Regions from separate parts of the Homo sapiens genome. Here region 1 is linked to region 2. Evidence: promoter capture Hi-C in human tissues and cell types (Jung and others, 2019). All regions are on one chromosome and are shown on one strand. The core of a region is centred on a gene start or on the middle of the fragment in contact, and the rest is flanking DNA. Distances in the headings are between cores, read along the strand shown.

What was found. The method cuts DNA at HindIII sites, captures the fragments that hold promoters and counts their contacts. A contact is called where the count stands out against the background at its distance.
Region 1: a contact is called between a fragment that was not itself captured here and the fragment with the promoter of PRR14L in region 2, in 1 of the 25 tissues and cell types used here (dorsolateral prefrontal cortex).

The regions. Positions count from the first base shown.
Region 1 is chr22:30,950,806-30,956,433 of GRCh38, forward strand. The region is part of intron 3 of MORC2 (MORC family CW-type zinc finger 2); the gene reads right to left. Among named protein-coding and RNA genes, the nearest start is that of MORC2, 15 kb to the right of the region's middle. The HindIII fragment of the contact is 6,988 bases long and covers 1-5,628 here.
Region 2 is chr22:31,747,854-31,753,666 of GRCh38, forward strand. PRR14L (proline rich 14 like) reads right to left here and starts at 2,279. Exons shown (of 9, transcript NM_173566.3): 1 at 2,140-2,279. RefSeq lists enhancers at 1,289-1,921, 2,161-2,720, 2,210-2,504. The HindIII fragment of the contact is 11,409 bases long and covers 1-5,813 here.

The DNA of each region.
Region 1 (5,628 bases), core at 1,573-4,072, 800 kb before region 2:
ACCCCAAGCACTAAAGTACTCCAACTACCACACACTGTACTTTATCAATACTGCTCAAACTCAACAGGATGCCTCCTTTGTGAATTAAGTCTGGGGTATCCTTCAAAGTGATGAAACCAGACATGGTATGGGCACAGCAGTGGAAGCTGCTATCTAAAAGATGAAGTACTGTGTCTATACATGACCATCCCTAGGCTGACTGGCATTCTGGGCTATCTGCATTTACTGTCATATCCCCTGCTAGCTATGGTCCTTGAAAGGGCTCCCCATCCCAACAGTGAGAAGGCACATGGTACAACGTGGAGGTGCCTTGTTCCTAGCTGGACCTGCCTGATGGGAAGAAGGAATGGTCCTTTGACAATAAGATGCACAGCAGCTGTGGTGGGGTTTCCTGGCCAACAGAAAAGGAACACAACAAACTACGGCTGCCATTCTAGTGAAAAGAACGTCTTCTCTCAGCAGTTGTCTTCTGCAGCAGAAAGTGGTTAACTGAAAGTGGTCTGGGTCCAAGCATGTCATGGTCAATGGAGAAGCGATTCCCAAATATGGAAACAGGCTATACTAGCTTCCAAGGTGCCTTTTGACCCAATGATGAGGACTAGGTGAGCAAAAGAGAAACCAGCCTTGGAATCAAGGAAGTTGGTAGACACAAAGAAGAGAAGGATGTAAGGCAGAGGTATAGGGAGGAGACCCACACAAGCCAAGCAAGCCAACTTCCCATATAGATGCTATTCAGTCTACTGACTGGCACAGGGATAAAGGTAGCATTTCTAAGAGGAAAGAGGTCTGTGTAAGGTATTACAAGGGCAAGCCCAAGGCTGCTCTGCAGCCTGGTCCCTGATGATTTCGGAATCTCCCCCAAGCTTCAGTTAACCAATTTTGTACAACTATCTAAGCTGAGAAATCTGTTTTAAATGCTCTTTGTCCTTTCTTCAGGCTAAAAATTCAAGTGAGTAGGGACTGCCCTCTGTCAAATAGACTTATTAATGTAAATTAAAATGCTATTTTTTTTTTTTTTGAAATGGAGTCTCACTCTGTCGCCCAGGCTGGAGTGCAACGGCGTGATCTCGGCTCACTGCAACCTCTGCCTCCCAGGTTCAAGCGATTCTCCTGCCTCAGCCTCCAGAGTAGCTTCTGTAAGGCTATAAACCACAGAGATTTTCAAGTACCACTCAGTGTTCAGGAAGCTGAACATTAATTACAAGTGCTTCTTGAAAGTACAAGGGTGAGGATCTTCCTGGAAGTACTATTGGTTAGATAAAATCTCTCCTGGTGGCAGTGCCTCTAATCAGAGTCTGGGGAATCCAAATGAGACGTGGCAATCAAGAATAAGTACAATAAAAGTCCAAAAAGGCTTCAAAATTTCCATCTGGAGGAAGCCAAGTGTCATAAGGAGACTCAAACTGGGTCAGGTACAGAGAATGGTAAAAGCAGCATTCTAAACCTAGCCAAGAGCCATTTGCTGTACACTACAGCCGCAAAATGTGCATGAAGACTCTGCTTTGGGATCTAGAAATTGATTCAAGCCAAGCACCTCTGAAAAGTCCCCAAGGACTACTGGCATTCTTTGGACACTGCCTAAGAAGTTACTTTCTAGGCTCTTGTGTTAGGATAGAACTCTTAGGCTGCTTTAGCACACAATCATCACTTAACAGTGGGGCTGGTATCCTTTTCTGGCTCAAGGACTTCATTTCAAAGCTTTTTCGTGTAGTTTAAAGGGTAAGAGATGACACTGGGGGGATCCTCCTGGCTACATAGTAACTGACAGCCTATAAATGGCTAGTAGTGTCTAGGTCCATGGCCACATGCAATACTGCCTCAGGGCCAAGAAAGACTAAGACAGCATTGACTTCTTCAACTTTGTAAACAGACAGTGTGGTCTCTTCACCTTGTTCAAATGCTTATGCCAATCACTTGTTTATTTAATGACTACTTAGTGATCAGCTCTTCTGTGCCTGGTTATGATGAGGACAAGAGCAGTGAACAGTACATATGCGATCACTGTCTTCATGGAGCTTACATCTAATGGATTCTACTGCCTGCAGCAGATAAGCTAGGAAGTAAAGGACAGGAGGGTTTAAGCTGAAGGAAGCTTAGAAAAGTATTGGCTAGAGCAAAATGTAGTATGGGTAAGAATTATCCAAAGAGCTTGTGAAAATAGATTCTGGGCTCCCCCTGGATAGTCTGGGTACGTCTGAGGTGGGGCATTCGCATTTCTAACAAGTTCCAAGATGATATTGACAACATCTGTGGATGGACCACCTTTTGAGAAGCACTAAACTAGAGCAAGCAAGAACTCGAAGGCGTCCCTGCTCAAAACTATCTCCTCATATATTCCACCATAGAGATAGATTCCTATCACCTGATATTTAATCAGTCAACTGAGTGATATCTGAAGCCTCCAAAGATAAAGGAAGGGGAATTCTGGATAAAGAAGAGTCTAAGCAGCTGGGGGTTGTATGTTCCCCGCCTCCCATCACACATCTTGAAAGTAAGAGAAGGCAAAGCCGAACTGCCTGCTTTGCAGCTGTGCTTCATATCCTGGGAACAGCTCTGTAAGACTGTCAAAGCCAATCTGAAAGTCTGCACATCTCCCAGAATGGCCAAGTCTGGCTTCTGCAAGCCAGACATTCTTCATCTAACTCCCACTGGGAAGAATAAAGAAAGAAAGCAGGAAAAGACAAGAGATGTCAAATGGAGCTATACATCCAAAAGTCAAAGGTGATAAAATAATGGTGTCCCCAGGAGAGGCTGCAATAAAATGACATCCAAGTTCTTCATCATACTCTGCAATCTGTTTGAGCAGTATTAATTGCAGTTTCATTTGCTCCAATTTTCCATGTGTTAATCATTGCCCTGGCATCACGAAAAGGATCTTTCTTCCAAGGAGGTGGCACTACCTACCCCAGAAGGTCAAGAAAGTCAACAAAAACAGTCTGCTTATGACAGGCATATTATGGTCTATAATAATAATCCAACTAATAATAATATGCTTTGGGTAAATGAACACCTCTACACTTTGAGAGGCTGGCTCCTTTTTTGCCCTTTTTAGGTTTAAAAATGGTCTTTAAATGTGACTTTGTGGTGACTTCAAACTACATCTGATGTTTGGAAAGATTTCCAAGTCCAGTTATCAATCAGTTTCAGAAGTGGAGATAAGAAAATACTTTCCCCCATGAACTAACAACAAGAACTTTATAGTATTAAGATTATTACTGGCCAAGCGCATCGGCTCAGCCTGTAAGCCCAGCACTTTGGGGGGCCAAGGCAGTCAGATTACTTGAGCTCAGGAGTTTGAGACCAGCCTGGGCAACATGGTGAAAAAATATATATACAAAAATTAACCAGGTATGGTGGTGTGTGCCTGTAGTCTCAGCTGCTCGGGAGGCTGAGGTAGGAGGATCACTTGAGCCCGAGAGGTGGAGGTTGCAGTGAGCCTAGATAGCACACTGCATTCCAGCCTGGGTGAAAAAAAAAGATTCCACGGACTGATTTCTCCTGTTGAATGTGTTAACAAGGCCCTGTGGTAGAAAAGTGTAGGGTTAAAGATCCCTTAGCCAAGAATCCCAATCTCCTGGTACTTGAAGTAAATCAAGTCTTTTTCCAAAATGCTATGGTGCTTAGTGCTTCTATCACACCATTTAATCCTTAACTGTCTTGACTGTTCCCTCAAGATCTAGTTATTGTTCTCTAATTATCCATAGTGCATTAATTGTCTCTCCAATTAAAGACTAAGTTCTTAAAGCAAAGACCCCCATCTCCTCCTCTCTGGACATTTCCCAAAGCATAACAGGAGTTGTACTGAGCACAGAATAAAGACACACTGGGTCCTTTTTCATTTAAATTGAAATCCAACTTCATTCTGAGTGTCAGGAACTAAACTTCCTTGCTGAAATTTACCCACCAAATGTAGTAGGAGACAGCAGAGATGATCTTTTTTAAAAAACGTCTTCCAAGTAGACTTGACCATTACGATTTGTACCTTCAACATCACTTGGAGAAGAGGCCCATTCTCTGCTTTAGCATCTGTGCATTGATTAAATAAGCCCTATTTTTCCAGCGGTAGCTGTTACCATTCCTGAGAAAGCACACTCAGATGTAAGATACATGCTTTGGCTTGGAAAGGCACCTCCATCTGGCCTGAGCATTTTTTTTTTTTTTTTTTTTTTTGAGACGGAGCTTCGCTCTTGTTGCCCAGGCTGGAGTGCAATGGTGCGATCTTGGCTCATGGCAACTTCCACCTCCTGGGTTTAAGCGATTCTCCTGCTTCAGCCTCCCGAGTAGCTGGGATTAGAGGCATGCACCACCACACCCGGCTAATTTTGTATTTTTAGTAGAGACAGGGTTTCTCCATGTTGGTCAGGCTGGTCTCAAACACCCGACCTAAGGTGGTCCGCCTGCCTCGGCTTCCCAAAGTGTTGGGATTACAGGTGTGAGCCACCACGCCCAGCCTTGGCCTGAGCATTTAGTAATCATCTTCTAACATTCTTTTCCTGTGTGCCCCTATTTCCTGTTACTTTCTTCTAGAGAGAAAAGAAGCCTTATTTTTACCACTTTGGCAGAGCCTTTTGAACAAAAGGCTTTCAGAATTGAAGCAGTACAGCTGACTTTTAGCTGCTCTGAGGATTTTCTTTGCTCCAAAGTATAGCAGACATGAGAAATTCATCAAATCTGGGGCAGATTCTTCATAATTATATGACATTAGTGGTTCTGAGAATTACTACTTAGTTGTGTGCTTGTTCCCATTCATCAAAAGGGTCCATGAAGAGGGGTTATTTCATTCCCATGTAAACATACAGACTTCTCAGAACCTAGTTCATGCTACTCAAAATATCACCTCACACATTTCAGAGGATTTCAGAAAAGTCTGTCAGAAAAAAACACATCACACTAGTCGAATTGTATTTAAAAGCTGTCTTCCGGCCAGGTGTGGTGGCTCACGCCTGTAATCCCAGCACTTTGGGAGGCCGAGGCAGGCAGATCACCTGAGGTCATGAGTTTGAGACCAGCCTGGCCGACGTGGTGAAACCCCGTCGCTACTAAAAATACAAAAAATTAGCCGGGTGTGGTGGTGGGCGCCTGTAATCCCAGCTACTTGGGAGTCTGAGGCAGAATTGCTTGAACCTGGGAGATGGAGGTTGCAGTGAGGCAAGATCGTGCCACTGCACTCCAGCCTGGGTGACAAGGTAAGACTCCATCTCAAAAAAAAAAAAAAAAAAAAGCTGTCTTCCTCCATTCTGCTTTCAAATTTTTAGTATTCAAATGACTAAAAAAGGTGCTAGTACAAATACCAGGCAGAAAGCAAACTATTAAAATTAATGAGTTAATTAATTAAAAGGCCAATGACTGTTGCACTCACTCTAGGAAAAGGAGAAGATCTTACTACAAAACAGCAGAGCCAAATAAGCAAAACGAAATAGGATGTTGACAGGTGTAAATTCCAAGCCAAGCAGCCTTCCTTCCTGACACCTCTGAGAACAACTCAGCAAACCTCAGAGCCAATCCAGTTACTGCTATTTTCCGCAACCGATACCAGCAATTCTCCAAGTTGAGACTAGTGCTCACCAAGAGTTCAAAACAAAGTGGCCTCCAACAAGATCTCTCCTTGGCTGCAGGTACCACAAACCT
Region 2 (5,813 bases), core at 1,029-3,528:
GGATTAACATTGTTGCTCTCAATCTCATCAGAATACATTTTATAACACTAAAAACCTGACAAAGTGGCAACTTTTAGTCATTCAAACACTCCCCAAAACAAAAGTTCTGGAGGTACAAAATTTACAGCAACAAGCAAAAAAAAAACAGAACATAAAACCGTGTGCCTCAATAATCCCGAATCTGAAAGTCTCCCCTCCCTTTAATTCCAATGCATAGGGGCTGTTAATAACACTAGGCGCTGCCATGCTTGCTTCAGGAACAATACTCACAATAATGACCAGGCCCTCAGAAGCTCACAACACTCTTTTCACCTTGAGAAAGGGGCTTTCTTTTCCAAAGATTCAGACATTGTAGCCATTCCCTCCAAGAGGGAATTTGGAGAATGGGCCTCTTCTTGAGAAACAAAGAAAGAAGAGTTTTTTAATAAAATCCCAAGACAAACCAAAAGTGAGGCAGGGAAGTTCATACACTAAACAGGGCAAGCGCTTCAACATGGAGCGTGCAGAAAATCTCTAAAGCATCAAGGACTATTTCCCATTTCCTCCCTTTAATAACATCCAGAAAAAGGATCCCTGTCTCCACGTAAGGAGTGAAACTGGAAAATGCTCCTGATTTCTACTGACAGAGGCTTCCTGTATAAAAGATTTTCCTCTGTTTTATAAAGGAAAAGGAGAAAAGAAACAATCTGTGTCATTTTCCATATACAAGAGGGAAGAGATCTCTCCTCAAAGGTATAGAGTCTTCATTTTCTTGGGAGAGCAAAAGACAGGAAGAATATGGAATCGCCCACTTGGGGGGGTGGGAAGGATGTGCAGATGGAAGATTTTTTGTCACTACAGTAAGTCAGGGAAGTGGGAGAGGGCATCTCTAACCAGTCAGGAAGAAGTGATACCTTCTGTGGACAAAGGAAGTGCTGGCGTCTGGCATCAGGTCTCACTTTCTCTTAAGAGCACAGACCTGTTTCCAAAAGCTAAGTCTTTTTTTTACTGATTATTTTCAGTGAGGCCCTCTTTGTTAATTTGGGAAAGTATTGAACAGCAGGATCTAAGGGGACTGGAAGTGTCTCTTTCTCTAACCCCTAAGTGGGAGGGAGTCTTCCACTCCAGTGAGAAAGGATGGTTGAACACTTGTGATGGAGGCTGCGAGGGGCATGCATGGAAAAATATGCTTCTCTGTGCAAGATATTAGTTTTCTTTTTTAACAGATTAAGTAATAGTAATAGCAACAGCTTACCAAAAGCTTACTATATAACTAGTATTTACACAAATGCTCCCTTAGCCCGCATGACAATTCTAAGAAAACAGAACCCAAATTGGAGATGGACTGAGATTCAGACAAGTTAAACAAATAGTCAAGGTCACAAAGACGTTAAGTGAGAGACCCAGGTTTGCAACGATTACACTCCAAAAGCCATGCTCTTAATAATGCAAGGGAAAGGAGCTCACTGCACACCAAGAGGCTTAAAGGGAAGAAGAGAAGCGAGGGTCTCTCTGTGGACATCACGAGGGGAGAGGGAGAAAGGTTGATTTCTGATACCATAAAGTAAAATTTCAAGGTCTTCCTCTCCGTATCTTGGGGTACAGGCGAAAAATAAAGGAGGAAGGTAAGTCTCTTTCTTACTGGGAAGAAAGATCCCCTCTGTCACTTTCAGGCAAGTTGGGTCTCACTCTTCACCTGGGTGACGCTGACCAAAGTTGGGGGAAAGGTCTCATTTAGGGGTTATCTTTTACTCCTCCTCAGGATAAGTTCAGAATCCCCCTCGAACCCTGGGAGTGGGTCTCCCTCTGCTGACCAACGGATGAGCGCTAAGAAAGAGCGTACGCCTCCGATAAGGGGCGTCGTCCTCTCCGAGGAGATAAGTTGGGGGATCCCTGTTGTATCGAGGTTGAAGAGGAGTCTCTCTCCCGCGTCGGAGCCATGACTCGGAGAAGCCGCTTTTCTCTAGCGACGCGGGGCCTGGTCTCCTCCCTCTCCCTGGGTCGTTCCGCCGCCCACAGGGCAGCCTTGGTTCCTTTCCGCGCCCCGAGAGGGCGGGGGGCCTGGACTCCCCTTTAGCAGCACCACCCGGCGGAGGGTCCCTTTAGGGCGGAGTGGGGCGGGGCGGCTACGCCCGAAGCCTTCCAGTCCCGGCCTCTTACCCTGAGACCTCCTCCGCGGCCCGCGCTTGCCCAGCCAGCTCAGCCCCTGCAGCTGCAGCCCCGTCGTCGCCAGGTCTACCTGAGCCTACGGAGCCGACAGAGGCCGGGGGCGCTCCGGCCGCCGCCACCTCTTCGTCTCTATGGTCCCCCTGCACTTCCTCATCCGGGGCCCGAGCCAGCCATGCGGACTCGCCCAAATCCCGCCCCCGCACCGCGCGCGCGCACTCCAAGGGAAGGCTCTTCCTGATTCTGACCTCCCGCCCTCTGCTAGCCCCAGCCTCCCTCAACCCCGCCCCTGCGGCTCAAACTCTTAAAGGGAAACACAACTTTTGGTTCTGCTCCTGCTGAGCCACAGGACCCAGTGCCGGCCTTCGCTGCTGTCACCCTGTTCCAGTCCACCGTTTTTCTAGTCTGGACGGCTACAATTCTAAGGGCCTGCCTGCTTCCACTCTGGCAGCCCGAGAGATCTTATTCTACTGGAAAGAGTGTTTTGGGTCATGACACTCCTCTGCTTCTTCTAATCACACTGACCACTAAATAAATGGCACCTCTGCCTCCAGTTGGTTACAGAACCTTGTTTTATTTTCTTCATAGCTTTAACACTAGCTGAAATTTCTATGTCTCATCTCTTTATTGACTTGTTTATCATTTATCTTCCTCCACCTTGTCTGTTTTGTTCATCACTTAATGCTCAGCACCAAGAGCAGTGTCCGGCACAAAACTAGACGCTCAATGGACATTTGAAGGAAGGAAGAAATGTTTATCCAGTGGAAGAATTGAGGTCCAGATAATGAAATCGACTTGCCCCAAATAATACGGCTTTGTGTTAAAAAATAGAAATCGACCAGGCGCGGTGTCTCACGCCTGTAATCCAGCACTTTGGGAGGCGAAAGCGGGAGAAGCACTTCAGCCCAGAAGTTTGAGACCAGCCTGGGCAACATAGTGAGACATCGTTTCTGCCAAAAAACAAACAGCTGGGTCTGGTGATGTGTGCCTGTAATCCCAGCTACTCTGGAGGCTGAGGCAGGAAGATCACTTGAGGCTGGAAGGTTGAGGCTGCAGTGAGCAGTGATAGTGCCACTGCACTCCAGCCTGGATGACACAGCAAGACTCTTTCTCAAAACAAAACAAAAATTGCTCAGGTGTTGATGCACCTGTGCTCCTAGCTACTGGGGAGCCTGAAGCAGGAGGATCGTTTGAGCCCAGGAGTTTGAAGCTGCATTGAGCTATGATGGTGCCCCCACTGCACTCCAGCCTGGGCAACAAAACAAGACACTGTCTCAAAAAAAAAAAAAAAAAAAAAAATTGAATGCTTCAAAGTTTCGTTTCTTTCTTTCTTTTTTTTTTTTTTGAGACGGGGCCACGTTCTGACACCAGGCTGGAGTGCAGTGGTAGGATCTCGGCTCACTGCAACCTCTGCCTCCCAGGTTCAAGAGATTCTCCAGCCTCAGCCTCCTGAGTAGCTGGGATTACAGGCGCATGCTACCATGCCCAGCTAATTTTTGTATTTTTAGTAGAGACAGGGTTTCACCATGTTGGCCAGGCTGGTCTTGAACTCCTGACCTCGAGTGATCCGCCTGCCTCGGCCTCCCAAAGTGCTGGGATTACAGGCGTGAGCCACCACTCCTGGCCTTCAGAGTTTCTTTATGAGAGTTGCCAAATTAAAAAGTTAAAATATTTGCCTTTTGGCCGGGCGTGGTGGCTGAAGCCTATAATCCCAGCACTTTGGGAGGCCAAGGCGGGCGGATCACGAGGTCAGGAGATCAAGACCATCCTGGCTAATACGGTGAAACCCCCTCTCTACTAAAAATTATAAACAATTAGCCAGGCGTGGTGGCGGGCACCTGTAGTCCCAGCTACTCGGGAGGCTGAGGCGGGAGAATGGCATGAACCCGGGAGGCAGAGGTTGCAGTGAGCCGAGATCGGGCCACTGCACTCCAGCCTGGGCGACAGAGGGAGACTCCGTCTCAAAAAAAAAAAAAAATTTGCCTTTTTAAGATGTCCCATTATGGACATCTCTCAGGAGAAGGAATCAAATTCCCTTGAGGGCTAAGAAGAGAGAATCCTATTAGCTTCCCCAGGGATGGAAGAATGTCCCATCAACCACCATTGCTAAAGACAAAAACTATCTTGGGGGATCTAGGTGTATCTCCTGAAGTGGCAACATAGAAACATTTTTTAACATAACATTGTTATTCTTAAAAAATTTTGTAACTGTTGCAATCCACTGTATCACATATGTTTTATTACAAGATAAACAATTTCAGCCAGGAGTGGTGGCTTGGCCTGTAGTCCCAGTCCCTTGGGAGGCTGAGGCAGAAGAATCACTTGAGCCCAGAAAATTGAGGTTGCAGTGAGCTATGATAGAACCACTGCACTGCAGCCTTGGCAACAGAGCTAGACCTGGTCTTGGGGGAAAAAAAAGGCCCGGCTACAGTGATTGGTGCCTGTAATCCCAGAACTTTGGGAGGCCAAGGCGGACGGATTACTTGAGCTCTGGAGTTTGAGACCAGCCTGGGCCACATGGCAAAACCCCGTCTCTACAAAAAATACAAAAATTAGCTGAGCATGCACCTGTAATCCCAGCTACTAGGAGGCTGAGGTGGGAGGATCGCATGAGCCAGGCAGGCAGAGATGGCAGTGAGACGGGATCATGCCACTGCACTCCAGCCTGGGTGAGGGTGACCTCATCTCAAAACAAAAACAAAAAAACAAACAAACAAAAAAATTGCAATTACTTAACACTTGCATTATTTACCTAACTTCTCCTGAGTCCCAACATAAAGGCATCCATGCTTAAGAACGTTGCTTGTCCTGTCCCAGGGTCCCCTTGGTCCACTGCAGAATCTTTCACTACAGTGTAACATGTTTTTTCTTTCAACATTTTTAAGTTTTCCAAATCCGTAAGAAATGGGCACTGTTAGTATTAAAGATATAAAGAAATTTAAGACAAGTGCTGTGTCGTTTAGATTTAGCAGTCAGTGTGATTAGAAGCAGCAGAGGAGAGGCGTGACCCAAGACACCGATTCTAGTTATAAGGTCTCTCTGGCTTCAAGAGGGGAAGCAGGGAGTCCCTATCGAGTTGCTGCCGCTCAGGTCAGAAACGGTGGACTGGACTAGGGGGCGGGGGTATCAGTGGCAGCAGGCGGAGCTGGCAATTGTCAGGAGTCCTTGGCCAGAGCCTGACCCAGCCCACCCAGCTCTCTGGTTTTCTGCTTGGAGAGAAAGATATCCTGACAGACGCGAGTTTAGGCAGTGCCCTGGGTATGACCAAAGGATGTTGGTTAAAGGCCCCGTTCTGGGAACGGGTCAGGATTCGTCCTTGCTTCCTTCTGAAGGGTTTTGTGTCCTCAGGCTGTTTCCTGGTTTGTGAAATAGGATAGTATCTGCCTCCTGCATCCATCAGGTAATAGGGATGCAATGATTACATAAGGACTATGAAGCCACGGCAGCCATTCTTATTAATAACCTGAGGGGCGCAGAACGTCGTTTAGAGTTTGCAAGGGTTTGAAAAGCCCCCCGTAAGTGGACACTTCCCAGCAGAGGCCATCACCCTAACTCTCGCGTGCTCAGCCCCTTGCATTTTACAGAAGTCCTCCCAGAAACTCTCGTTGGCGCCTCTTAGCTGCCCAATGAGGCCACATGAGTCATTAACCTCGTTCATATAACAGAAA